4 separate regions of the Homo sapiens genome follow, and all the other regions are linked to region 1. The links are contacts of gene promoters, found by promoter capture Hi-C in human tissues and cell types (Jung and others, 2019). All regions are on one chromosome and are shown on one strand. Each heading gives the region's core, a stretch centred on a gene start or on the middle of the fragment in contact. The rest is flanking DNA. Distances are from core to core; before and after follow the strand shown.

Evidence for each region. The method cuts DNA at HindIII sites, captures the fragments that hold promoters and counts their contacts. A contact is called where the count stands out against the background at its distance.
Region 2: a fragment that was not itself captured here is called in contact with the fragment with the promoter of DARS2 in region 1 in 1 of the 25 tissues and cell types used here (mesendoderm cells).
Region 3: a fragment that was not itself captured here is called in contact with the fragment with the promoter of DARS2 in region 1 in 1 of the 25 tissues and cell types used here (hippocampus).
Region 4: a fragment that was not itself captured here is called in contact with the fragment with the promoter of DARS2 in region 1 in 1 of the 25 tissues and cell types used here (hippocampus).

Annotation. Positions count from the first base shown.
Region 1 is chr1:173,823,048-173,826,137 of GRCh38, forward strand. DARS2 (aspartyl-tRNA synthetase 2, mitochondrial) reads left to right here and starts at 1,626. Exons shown (of 17, transcript NM_018122.5): 1 at 1,626-2,309. The coding sequence starts at 2,183. CENPL (centromere protein L) reads right to left here and starts at 1,836. Exons shown (of 6, transcript NM_001387287.1): 1 at 1,165-1,836; 2 at 879-972. RefSeq lists enhancers at 1,113-1,352, 1,330-1,848, 1,583-2,142, 1,849-2,366, 3,008-3,090. The HindIII fragment of the contact is 1,671 bases long and covers 1,089-2,759 here.
Region 2 is chr1:173,507,094-173,510,183 of GRCh38, forward strand. It overlaps SLC9C2 (solute carrier family 9 member C2 (putative)), which reads right to left. Exons shown (of 28, transcript NM_178527.4): 24 at 2,475-2,606. Among named protein-coding and RNA genes, the nearest start is that of PRDX6, 31 kb to the left of the region's middle. The HindIII fragment of the contact is 5,494 bases long and covers 1-3,090 here.
Region 3 is chr1:173,531,834-173,534,923 of GRCh38, forward strand. It overlaps SLC9C2 (solute carrier family 9 member C2 (putative)), which reads right to left. Exons shown (of 28, transcript NM_178527.4): 16 at 2,651-2,849; 17 at 1,776-1,964. Among named protein-coding and RNA genes, the nearest start is that of PRDX6, 56 kb to the left of the region's middle. The HindIII fragment of the contact is 3,914 bases long and covers 1-3,090 here.
Region 4 is chr1:174,080,819-174,083,908 of GRCh38, forward strand. No RefSeq gene overlaps it. Among named protein-coding and RNA genes, the nearest start is that of RC3H1-DT, 60 kb to the left of the region's middle. The HindIII fragment of the contact is 9,405 bases long and covers 1-3,090 here.

The DNA of each region.
Region 1 (3,090 bases), core at 376-2,875:
TTCTTAAAAAGATATACACTTGTCCTCTTAGATGTGGGCTTCACTTTCATTCTCAATTATAGCTACTTATCTTGTTCCCAATCTTAGCCCCTTTCCCTAATCCATCATCAGTCTTTCATTGTCACCACTTTTATCATTACCTTGCTTGAGATCCCATAACAGTTCCCACACATCTATATGAAGTCAAATCAGAATTCCTGTCTGGCTTTCAAGGCACTACTGTATTTGATCTTATTATCTGATCCTATCCAGGTTCATTTTCTACTACTTCAGTTCTTCCCCAAGATCCATCGACATTAGCCTTTCCAAAATCCAACATTCTGCATACACTTCCTCTAAGGTTTTGTATACAACATTGGGGGGTGGGGGGATGGGAGTGAAGAAAGTTCCAGTAGACAATTCTTTAAGAGGTTAAATGACAGCCCTATACCCAAACATGCACCCCCTACTCTAGACAGATGATCACTCTACTGTTCTCCCTGCCTTTTTATTCACCTTATCGCCAATTAAAAACACTTCTCTACTCCCGTTTGTCTCAGTAAATCTTATCCATTTTCCATGTGCCATCTCCTCAGAAGTTTTCCTGAGCTTGGCAGGGCTAGTTCTCTTGACAATTCCACTTGCAGTTGTGGTTCACAGCACACAAGTAAAGCTTTGTTGTTTCTCTTGTGATTAGTCCGTGAAGGGGCTCTGACTTGATCACTTTTCTACATTGCCACCAATACCTAAATCCAACCGCCCCAATGCCAATACTTAGCCAGTGTTAAGCACGTAGTGTTTAAACACACCTCAACACGCAAGTATTGTAAGATAATGACCACACAACAGGGCAAATACAAAGTTAAAGCAGGTCCGGGACCAATACAAAGCATCTTTACCAATAAAATGCCGTGATGACGCTGTCACCCATTCCGGATTCACGAATCATTCTTCAAAAGTCCGGCTCCAAAACTATGTGGAGACTGAAATCCCCTGAAGAAAAAAAAAAAAAACCGCCAAAATGACAGCTAAGACAGAGGCCAGACTAACCCCTGGCCCTCCCAAATTCCCTCTCGCTCCACAAGTGGGTTCACAAGAGACACAAACGCACCCAGGAAGACCTCCGCTCCCTCAGACGCGGGGCGGGCCCTGCGACTTCACTCTGGGAGGGACATTTCCGCTCACCCAGCTCTGCGACCCTCGCTCCTGCGGAGTCAGCTTCTGCTCGCGGAGGGGGAAGGGCAAAAGGACAGTGCGTCCCAACCCGTCCCTCTCCAGCTGAGCCTGTCAGAGACCAGCCCAGCTCTGAAATCAAGCCGTTGAGAAAAGGGAATTCGGCCCTCCGCCGCCTCTTCAGTTTAAAATCGTTTCCCGACTCGCTCTGCGGCCCCACGCAGGAAGCCTCCTTGGCGCCTCGCCGATTCCGTATCAGTGAAGCAACTAAAATTGCCATTTTAACTGAGGGCAAGGCCGAGCCACTTAACCACTATCGTCAACCTTTCCAATCGTGCTCGGTTGCTCCTCAGTTTTCCTACCGGTGCGAAGCTTTCTCTCAAATTTCCGCCCGTAGTAGGCATGGCGGCGGCACCTCACCACTGATTCGTTGAATTCCTTCCCGGTAATCTTGGGCACTAGCGGGCGGAGTTGAAGGGCGCTTGGACCCCAGCGGCGATCTGTGTTTGGGTTCGCGCTCTGGGAGAATTTTGGCTTTGCTCGCCTTCCTCTTTCAGAAGACTCGAAATCGGCCAGCAGGTCTGCGAGATTTGAAACGCGACTGTTACTCCTTGTTTTCCGGTTCTGGCCGCGGGAGCCTCTCGAGAAGCGTGGAAAGAGGAGAAGGGCGTATACCTTGTGACCGCCTCTGGTTGTCTTGGGCTCGCGCCTGGCGCCGCTACGTGGAGTCGCTCTCTCGTCGTCACTTTTGGCTGCCGACTTGTTGAGTAGAAGTGCAGACTGATGCTTTAAGACTCAGGGAGAGGTCTTTCCCTTATCTCCACCCCAGCAAGCACCCCAGAGACCTTGGAGATTTGTCTTGTTTCTAGACACGTGTACTCCAATGTTGTGCGGAGGAGGCCTTAAATATTCGAGAAGAGAGTGGGAACTCCTGGAATTTTAAGGGATTTCTGTGTATTTCCAAAACTGACTTTTAACTACCGGCAGCGTGGGATTTCGTGATTGTTTTTCGCCATCGTGTGGCTCCAACATGTACTTCCCTTCTTGGTTAAGTCAGCTGTACAGGGGTTTATCCAGACCCATCAGAAGGACCACCCAACCGATCTGGGGTTCTCTCTACAGAAGTCTGTTGCAGAGTTCACAGAGGAGAATTCCAGGTGAAAATAGCGAAGAGATCTATCCTATGAACAGTACTTCAGCCTGTTATCTACGGCCGGAGAGCTTTTATTCCATTTTTCATTTTTTCCCCCATTATTATTATTATTATTATTATTATTATTATTATTTGAGACGGAGTCTCGCTCTGCTGCCCAGGCTAGAGTGAAGTGGCGCGATCTCCGCTCACTGCAAGCTCCGCCTCCCGGGTTCACGCCATTCTCCTGCCTCAGCCTCCCGAGTAGCTGGGACTACAGGCGCCCGCGACCACGCCCGGCTAATTTTTCTGTATTTTTGGTAGAGCCGGGGTTTCACTGTGTTAGCCAGGATGGTCTCGATCTCCTGACCTCGTGATCCACCCGCCTCCGCCTCCCATAGTGCTGGGATTACAGGCGTGAGCCACCGCGCCCGGCTTTTCCCCTGTTCTTAACTGGATAGCCTTATGTGTAGAAGCGAAATTCACTCTCATTATATTCATTATACGGCAGTTTTTTTTCCCTGAGTTTTTAGAAAGACCACAAAAAGGTAACCACGTAATATATAGAATACTCTGCTTTTGGTTGATGCCTTAAAAAAATCCTTCTTCGGCCGGGCGCGGTGGCTCACGTCGTTAATCCCAGCACTTTGGGAGGTCGAGGAGGGCGGATCACGAGGTCAGGAGATCGAGACCATCCTGGCTAACACGGTGAAACCCCGTCTCTACTAAAAATAAAAAAAAAATTAGCCGGGCGTGGTGGCGGGCGCCTGTAGTCCCCGCTGCTGGGGAGGCCGAGGCAGGAGAAT
Region 2 (3,090 bases), core at 230-2,729, 320 kb before region 1:
TCAAGAAGAAAACAGATTTACTGATCTATCTGAATTATTTGAGGGTGTCAGAAGGTACACAGCCCCTGGCACCAACAGACAGGATTTATTTAGCATTCAGAATGGCCTCTGACAAATTTCTAAATTCCAAATGTTTATGCTGTTAATGGGCCCTGGATACTGTTGCCCAGCCCTAAATTGTGAGCTCTCAGCCACAGCAGGGTAGTTGGCTATGACTCAGGAGATTTCTATTTGCACAAGACTCAGAGTCTTAAAAGATTCAGAGTTTCACTTACAAGTAAGCTTATGTTCCACTTGACAGGTGAATAGGAATAACACAAAGCCAAAACAAAGCAAGCTAGAGTCTGAGCTATACTTCAAGGCTCAGAGTCATAGACTTTAGAACTGGGAGGGAGTTATTATGGGTTGAATTGTGCACACACACACACACACACACACCACCTCCCACCCAATTCTTATGCTGAAGTCCTAACTCCCAGTATCCTGGAATGTGACCTTATTGAAATGGGTCATTGCAGATGCAATTAGTTAAGATGAAGTCATACTGGAATAGGTTGGGCCTCTAATTTGAACAACTAGTGTCCTTATAAAAAGGGGAAACTTGGACGCAGACTTGCACACAGGGAGAACGCCACGTGAATATAAAGGCAGCCATTTATAAGCCAAGGAGGGAGGCCTGGCCCAGATTCTCCCTCACAGCCCCTCAGTAGGAGCCAATCCTCCCAACACCTTGATTTCTAATTTCTAGCCTCCAGAACTGTGAAACGATGCATTTCTGGTTTTTTTACGCCACCCAGTTTGTGGTACTTTGTTACAGCCGTGCTTGCAAACTAACCCAGGAATTTAGAGATCAGCCCAACAGTAGGCATCTCCTGCACAGGGCCCTGACAGGGCTGTCAGCTCAGTCTAAACATCTCCACCCCCATTCAGGGCACAGCTACATGAGCCAGTCCCTGAATCTCAGTCACTGACAGGTGAATCATACATTTATTTGCTGAGGGCACCAGCACAACTGGGAACCAAAAACATTTAAAAATTAGCAAATGTATCTAGTATTTCACAACCAGAAAATCTAAAAAAAAATCAGCTGTTTTGGTTTGATTTTAAAATGCATATACATTTTGAGTTCTGTGATTTAGAGGGAAAAAAATCTTAATTGGCTAGTTCTTTAATGGAAAAAAAAAGAAAGAAACTAAGTATTAAATAGAGATTCTCTATTTAATAATAAATACAATTTTTTTAATGTTTTATATCTGTACTTTCTCATTTATATAATGAATATGTGTTGCTTGTGAATTTAAAAAAATTTAAAGGACATTCATCTTATTATTGAGTCAAGTCTGAGTCCATACAGTTTCTACCCATTGGTCCTAATTCTCACCCCTGAAGTTTCATACTAGACTCTAAATTTGTCCCACTTCTCATGAAGATGCAAGGTAAAAGGAAAAGAGAAGAATTCCAATCCCCTTATCCCTCTGCTAAAATTTTTCTGAAAGTTATTATTGCAATAAAGTAAAAGAAACCTGACTGGCTTGTATGACACACTCATTTTTTAACCCAATATTTATTTATACCCAGTCGCTCAGTTCAGTGAATATTACTGAACTTCCAATCTTTCCCAGTTCACTTCCCCAGTTCCTGACTCACTAGCTAGTAAGGGTTCCAATAGTTACTAAATAGGATACAAATGTGAGATTGTAAATTGTGCTTGTCCAGAGAAAACTTGAACCACTACTCTTTGGAGGGGAAGTCCATGAGAGAGGCTCAGTCACCTCCACAAAGATTTTGAAAAGGCAGGAGATTTACAGACTTATATTAACATCGGCAGAGTAGGCAATAATAAATACAGACAGAGCGTTTGTTAACACATTCTGATTAACACTATGCTTGGTTCAGGGGGGGATCTACCTATTTTGAATTTGCTAAATCTACCTTCTTTTTTTTTTTAGAAATGATTGCAAGTAGCTTGGGAAAATTAGCTGTGACAAAAGGATTGACAACCTGTAGGAACTCAGGATAAGAGAGCAGTTAAAATTCTAGCAATCTCATTTTAGAAAAGCAGACACAGGGCCAGGCACAGTGGCTCACGCCTATAATCCCAGCACTTTGGGAGGCCGAGGTGAGTAGATCACTTGAGGTCAGGAGTTCAACACCAGCCTGGCCAACATGGTGAAATCCTGTCTCTACTAATAATAAAAAAAATTAGCCAGAGGTGGGGGCAGGCGCCTATAATCCCAGTTACTTGGGAGGCTGAGGCAGGAGAATTGCTTCAACCTGGGAGACAGAGGTTGTAGTGAGCTGAGACTGCACCATTGCACTCCAGCCTGGGCAACAGAGTGAGCCTCTGTCTCAAAAAAAAAAAAAATCAAACACAAATTTCCTTTCTATTTTTGTCTCAAAAATATGAAATGCATTTTGTAAAAAATACAATGCATAAAAATTCAATTTATTAATATTTTAATCACATAACTTACCTCATCAATAAGACTTGATTCAAAATACTGATAGGCAGTACTGAGAGCAAGCTTTAGCCATATTTTATATTCCAGAGATGGCCAGAAGGCATCAAAGCCTTCATATAAATCCTCCAGGGAGATAAAGCAGGCCTGAAACAAAAAGGAACCAGGCCATAGCAGCTTGATGTGGAACTAAATTACAAGACCATCAAAAAACAAGATGCCTGCAGATTTAACCTTCAGAAAAACTATCAATTCTAGCATAATTATGATACTCTTGTCATTTAGAAGCATTTGTATTGTGAAAATGGTTGTTTGCTAAGTATAAGATGATAAAATGTATGGTGTGATTAAAGCTATAGACTTTAATAAGAGACCAGAAAAATGTATATCAGTCAATAGATATAATGAAGGATATGGCTCATGAGCCCAAAGTCCAGGATTCAGGAACTAAGCCATATGAACTTATCTATTTTTATTGTCATGGTAGATAACATGAGCTCATTCACAGTATTTGTTTCCAGAGGCAAATAGTTTAGCTGAATAAAAAAGATACACTTTCAGATTCAAGTTACACGAACTTCAGTGAATTCAATTCAGCCTTATGACTAAACTCATGCCTTCTCTCCTCTTC
Region 3 (3,090 bases), core at 224-2,723, 290 kb before region 1:
TTATATTTACCTGCATACGATTTCTGTATAAATACTGATTACCTAAAGAAACTCCTACCTTCCATTTTAAGTCTTTGCATCACACAACACATCCTGATTTCTAGGACAGTTTACATGACGGTGGAGTTACACCTTACATGAGCACTTTGCTCCAAACTCAGCTCATAAGGCAAAAAGCACATTGAATCAAAATTACCCTTTAAACCAGGTACAGTAACTCTGAACGGTAATTCTTATGAACACTAAAGTTTGGTCACACCAATGTAGAATAAATGAAGGAACAAAAAAGAAAATCTGTAAGCACAAACTGGATAGTCAAACAATTCTGCCTTAAAGATAACTATTAAATGTTGTGGAGAATGGGAAGTAGGTGGAGGAGTCTAATATGTGCATTTCACCATCAGAGTTTATAGCAATTTTTTTAATGTTAAGTCTCTGTATCTAACTTCAATAAATACTAATATAATAGATTTGCTTGATGTAATAAGAATTAAACAACAACAAACATGGCATGGCAAGTGAAATCATTTAAAGCCCTGAAGTTAAAAGCTTATGTAATGCAACTCCATTGGAAAGAGAGAAAGGAGGTTTAAGAATTGAAACTGAAAGTATAAAAATCTGCCTTCAGTATCAAAACCAGAGTCATGGAATGAAGGCATAGTAATTGTTAAGGAAATTGAAGGCCACAGTAAAATTAAATTCCATAGGTAGTATCCTATGTGACTGTGGAGCTATGGAGGAAATATTTTTGTTTCTGTACAGTTTGGGAGACATGAACAAATTTTACTGAAACTTAAAGAACTTGTATTTGGGTTACCCTGCTTCTACTGGCACCAAGATTTTTATTCTTTCACTCAACAAATATTTATTAAGTGCTTACTATACGCCAGGCACTGTTCTGGAGGCAGAGGTTACATCAATGACCAAAACAGGCCGAGTATGGTGGTTCATGCCTGTAATCCCAGCACTTTGGGAGGCCGAAACAGGAGGATTGCTGGAGCCCAGGAGCTTTAGACCAGCCTGGACAATAAAGTGAGATCCCATTTCTATTAAAAAATGTAAAAAGAAAGACCAAAACAAAGATCTCTACCTCACAGAGAGTACATACAATATACAGTAAATTGCTGATAAGTACTGTGGGGCAAAAATTAAAGTTGAGCAGGTAGAGGGTAATCAGGAGGATGAGGTAGAAATTGAGGGTGTGAAGGGTGGGTTGCCAGTTGACATAGGCTGGTCAGGAGAGGCCTCTGTGACAAGCTGAGATTTGAGCAATGGCTTGAAGGTGACGAGAAAGGGAACCATGCAGATACCTATTGAGAGGGTGTTCCAGAAGAGACAACTCCTGCTCTCATTTCTTTCAAAACAATGAGGTTTCTTACTCACTTAACACACAATGTAAAAAAAGAATTTTAATACTTTATTTTATTATTATTATTATTTTTTGAGACAGAGTCTGGCTCTGTCACCAGAGCCATCATTGCACTCTGTCTGACTGGAGTGCAATGGCACAATCTCAGCTCACTGCAGCCTCACCTCCTGGGCTCAAGCGATCCTCCCACCTCAGCCTCCCAAGTAGCTGGGACCACAGGTGCACACCATCATGCCCAGCTAATTTATTAATTTTTTGTAGTGATGGGGTCTTGCTATGTTACCCAGGTTGTCTCAAACTTCTGGACTCAAGCAATCCACCCACCTAGGCCTCCCAAAGTGCTGGGATTATAGGTGTGAGCTACCACTCCTGGCAAATCTTAATATTTTAAAATGTGAAATCTTACCTTGAAGAGAGGAAGAAACCTAATTATTCTTAAATATCCCATTATTACTGTAAGCTGTATAAGAGCCAAGTTGTCTGGTCTCAATTTCACAAAGTATACACAAAAGATATCAATGATTCCAATAACCAGGATAAAAAATTCCAAAGTATTCCAACATTGTTGAAAATATTTCCTTTTCAAAATTATTATCTGTACAGAAAACAAATGTCATTTCATAGCACCTATACAGTAATGTTGGGGGGAAGAAATCTATAAAATTAACAACTAAGTTCTTAACTACAAATGAGTTATATTCCGAAAGTTGAGCTTTAAGTTATTCATTTGGAATCCCCCCAAAAATTCTTTAAAATCTTCACCATTTATAATTTGATTTAAAATATATACTCTATAATAAAGCTGGAATGCCAAAAACAACTATTAAAAATAGCAATAAACAGATTCATTGCAATACTATTAATAATAAAGTATGAAATAGTAATGCTCATAAATCACCTTTTACACATTTATACTAATAATTAACTCACATTTTATGACAAAGACCTAGCAAACCAATTCTTATTCACTTATTTATTTCTTGCATCATTACACAAAATATTTGAGGGAAACGTCCATGTCTGGATTTTCAATTCTCCTTTACCTGATCCTTGAGAATCTCTCTACTTTTATGATACTTAACTGATGTCCAATACCATGACTCTTATACTAATTTCACTATTAAACTTGGAAAATTCAAAAAGCTTACTAAAATTCTAGGATCTCATCAACTATCATAGCAAATGGCTCTTGGTATCAAGTTACTTCAATAATATGACAAAATAGATTCAAAATACCTGAATTGCTCTTTTTATAGATTCTATTTCTATTTTAAACAGTACCTTCAATGTTGATTCTAATACATATAAAAACATAAAATAGTAGTTTATTGATATCAGTGCTGATACATTTAAACCTCTTGCCATTGGCCACAGATGTATTATCATAGGATAAATATATATCAAATTTATAATCTGTCCTGTATATTCAAATTCTTCAGAAAATACTATGTGAAATATAAAAGTCAGAAATGTATTACTCCTGAAAAGAGATCAAATAAAATGTTAGATCACTTAAAAGTATAATTAGCAGCTGAAGTTCAATATTTGTTTAAACAAATCATTAAAATTAATTTGAAGACTATACATAATATAAAATAATAGTAAGCAAAAATCAAAAGCATATTTTCTATACATAAAAATCATAATGAAGAAAGGTAAAAAACATGATTTTTAAAAATCCATATCAGGGATGAGAAGCATTTTTAAAACTCAAGGCCACA
Region 4 (3,090 bases), core at 217-2,716, 260 kb after region 1:
GGAACTGGGAAAGGACCACAGGGGGAAAGAAACTTCAAGCTGAACTTTGTAATAATTTTGATGGAGTGTGAATTTTCCTGGGCAAAATGGAGAAGGGGGTGAACAAGGAGTGCAGATAAGAGCATGGAAGACACAGCAGGCAGGGAGGGGCAGGGCCTGAAAGCCCTGCTTGCTTTCTCAGCAGGGAAGCTTGTAGCCTGGGGCAAGATCTCAGTCCTGCTCACCTGGATATAAACTCCATGCTGTTGGTGGGGCATGGTGGGAGTGAGACTGGCTTTGCTGGCTGCATGGGAGCTGGATGAGACCTGTCACTGCCATCAGGTGTTCCTGAGGAAGAAGAGAAATCTGAAAGTCTGGAAAACTTATTTGAGGGAATAATCGAGGAAAACTTCTCTGGCCTTCCTAGAGATCTAGACATCCAAATACAAGAAGCTCAAAGAACACCCAGTACATTCATCACAAAAAGATAATCACCTAGATACACAGTCATCAGGTTATCTAAAGTCGAGGCAAAAGAAAGAATCTTAAGGATGGTGAGGGCAAAAGCATCTGGTAACCTATAAAGGAAAACCTATCAGAATAACAGTAGATTTCTCAGCAGAAACCCTACAAGCTAGAAGGGATTGGGGTCCTATCTTTAGCATCCTTAAACAAAACAATTATTAGCCAAGAATCTTGTATCCAGCAAACCTAAACTTCATTAAGTGAAGAAAAGATAAAGTCTTTTTCAGACAAACAAATGCTGAGAGAATTCGCCGCTACCATGCCAGCGCTACAAGAAATGCTAAAAGGAGTTCTAAATCTTGAATCAAAACCTCGAAATACACCAAAATAGAACCACTTTAAAGGATAAATCCCACAGGGCTTCTAAAACAATAACAACAACAACAACAAACATAAGGTATTCAGGCAACAACTAGCAGGATGAACAGAATAGTATCTCACATCTCAATATTGACGTTGAATGTAAATGGCCTAAATGATCCACTTAAAAGACATAGAATGGCAGAATGGATAAGAATTCACCAATCAAGTGTCTGCTGTCTTCAAGAAACTCAGCTAACACATAAGGACTCACATAAACTTAAGGTAAAGGGGTGGAAAAAGATATTCCATGCAAATGAACATCAAAAGCATGCAGGAATATCTATTTTTATGTCAGACAAAAAAAAAAAAAGACCTTAAAGTAACAACAGGTAAAAAAGACAAAGAGGGACATTATGTAATGATTAAAGGAGTAGTCCAACAGGAAAATATCACAATCTTAAACATATATGCACCTAATTCTAGAGCTCCCAAATTCACAAAACAATTACTACTAGACCTAAGAAATGAGATAGACGGCAACACAATAATAGTGGGGGACCTCAATACTCCACTGACAGCACTAGACAGATCATCAAGACAGAAAGCCTAAAAAGGAACAATGGACTTATACTATACCCTAGAACAAATGAACTTAACAGATATTTACAGAACATTCTACCCAACAACTGCAGAATATACATTCTATTCATCTGTAAATTCAATGCAATTCCCATCAAAATACCACTGTCATTCTTCACAGAACTAGAAAAAGCAATCCTAAAATTCATATGGAACAAAAAAAAGAGCCCGCATAGCCAAAACAATACTAAGCAAAAAGAACTAATCTGGCTGGGCGTGGTGGCTCACACCTGTAATCCCAGCACTTTGGGAGGCCAAGGTGGGTGGATCACCTGAGGGCAGGAGTTCGAGACCATTCTGGCCAACATAGTGAAACTCCATCTCTACTAAAAATACAAAAAATTAGCTGGGTGTGGTGGCACGCGGCTCTAATCCCAGCTACTAGGGAGGCTGAGGCAGGAGAATTGCTGGAACCAGGAGGTGGAGGTTGCAGTAATCGCATCACTGCACCTCCAGCCTGGGCAACAAGAGCAAAACTCCATCTCAAAAAAAAAAAAAAAAGAACAAATCCAGAGGCATCACATTACCTGATTTCAAACTATACTACAAGGGGATAGTCACCAAAACATCATAGTACTGGCATAAAAATAGGCACATAGACCAATGGAACAAAATAGAGAACCCAGAAATAAAGCCAACTACTTATAGCCAACTGATCTTCAACAAAGCAAACAAAAACATAAGTGGGGAAAGGACACCCTATTCAACAAATGATGCTGGGATAATTGGCAAGCCACATACGGAAGAATGAATCTGGAGCAAAACTCCATCTCAAAAAATAAATAAATAAAAATAAATAAAAAAGCTGCCAGGTGTGGTGCCTCACGCCTATAATCCCAGCATTTGGGAGGTGAAGGTGGGAGGATCACTTCAGCCCAGGAGTTCGAGACCATCCTAGGCAACATGGCGAAACTCCATCTCTACAAAAAATTGCAAAATTAGCAGGGCATGGTGGCATGCGTCTGTAGTCCCACCTACTGGAGTGCAGTGGCATGATCTGGGCTCACTGCAACCTCCACCTCCCGGGCTCAAGCAATTCTGTCTCAGCCTCCCGAGTAGTTGGGAATACAGGCGCATGCCACCATGCCTGGCTAATTTTTGTATTTTTAGTAGAGATGGGGTTTCACCATGATGGTCAGGCTGGTCTCAAACTCTTGACCTCAGGTGATCCACCCGCCTTGGCCTCCCAAAGTGCGGGGATTACAGGTGTGAGCCACCGCGCCCAGCCAGTCTTTCATGTCTTTTAGTGCTATTGTGAATGTTGGGCCTTACAATTTTCAATTCTGACTTTTTTTTCCTAGTATTTAGAAATACAATTAATTTTTGAAATTGATCTTGTAACATTCAACTGTGCTGAACTCATTTATTAGTTCCAGCAGCTTTTTTGTACATTCTGTAGAATTTTCTACTTAAAATTATGTCATCTGCAAGTAAAGGCAATTTAATGTCTCCTTTTCCAATCTGGATATATTTTATTTATTTTTCTTGCCTTAATATACTGGCTTTCTTTAGTACAATGTTGAATACAAGTGGTGAGAACTTACATGCTTCCCTTACTCCTTATGTTAGGGAGCAACATTCAGTCTTTCACCATTAAGTATCAAATTAGCTTCAGATTTTGAGGGGTAACTTTTATAAAGTTGA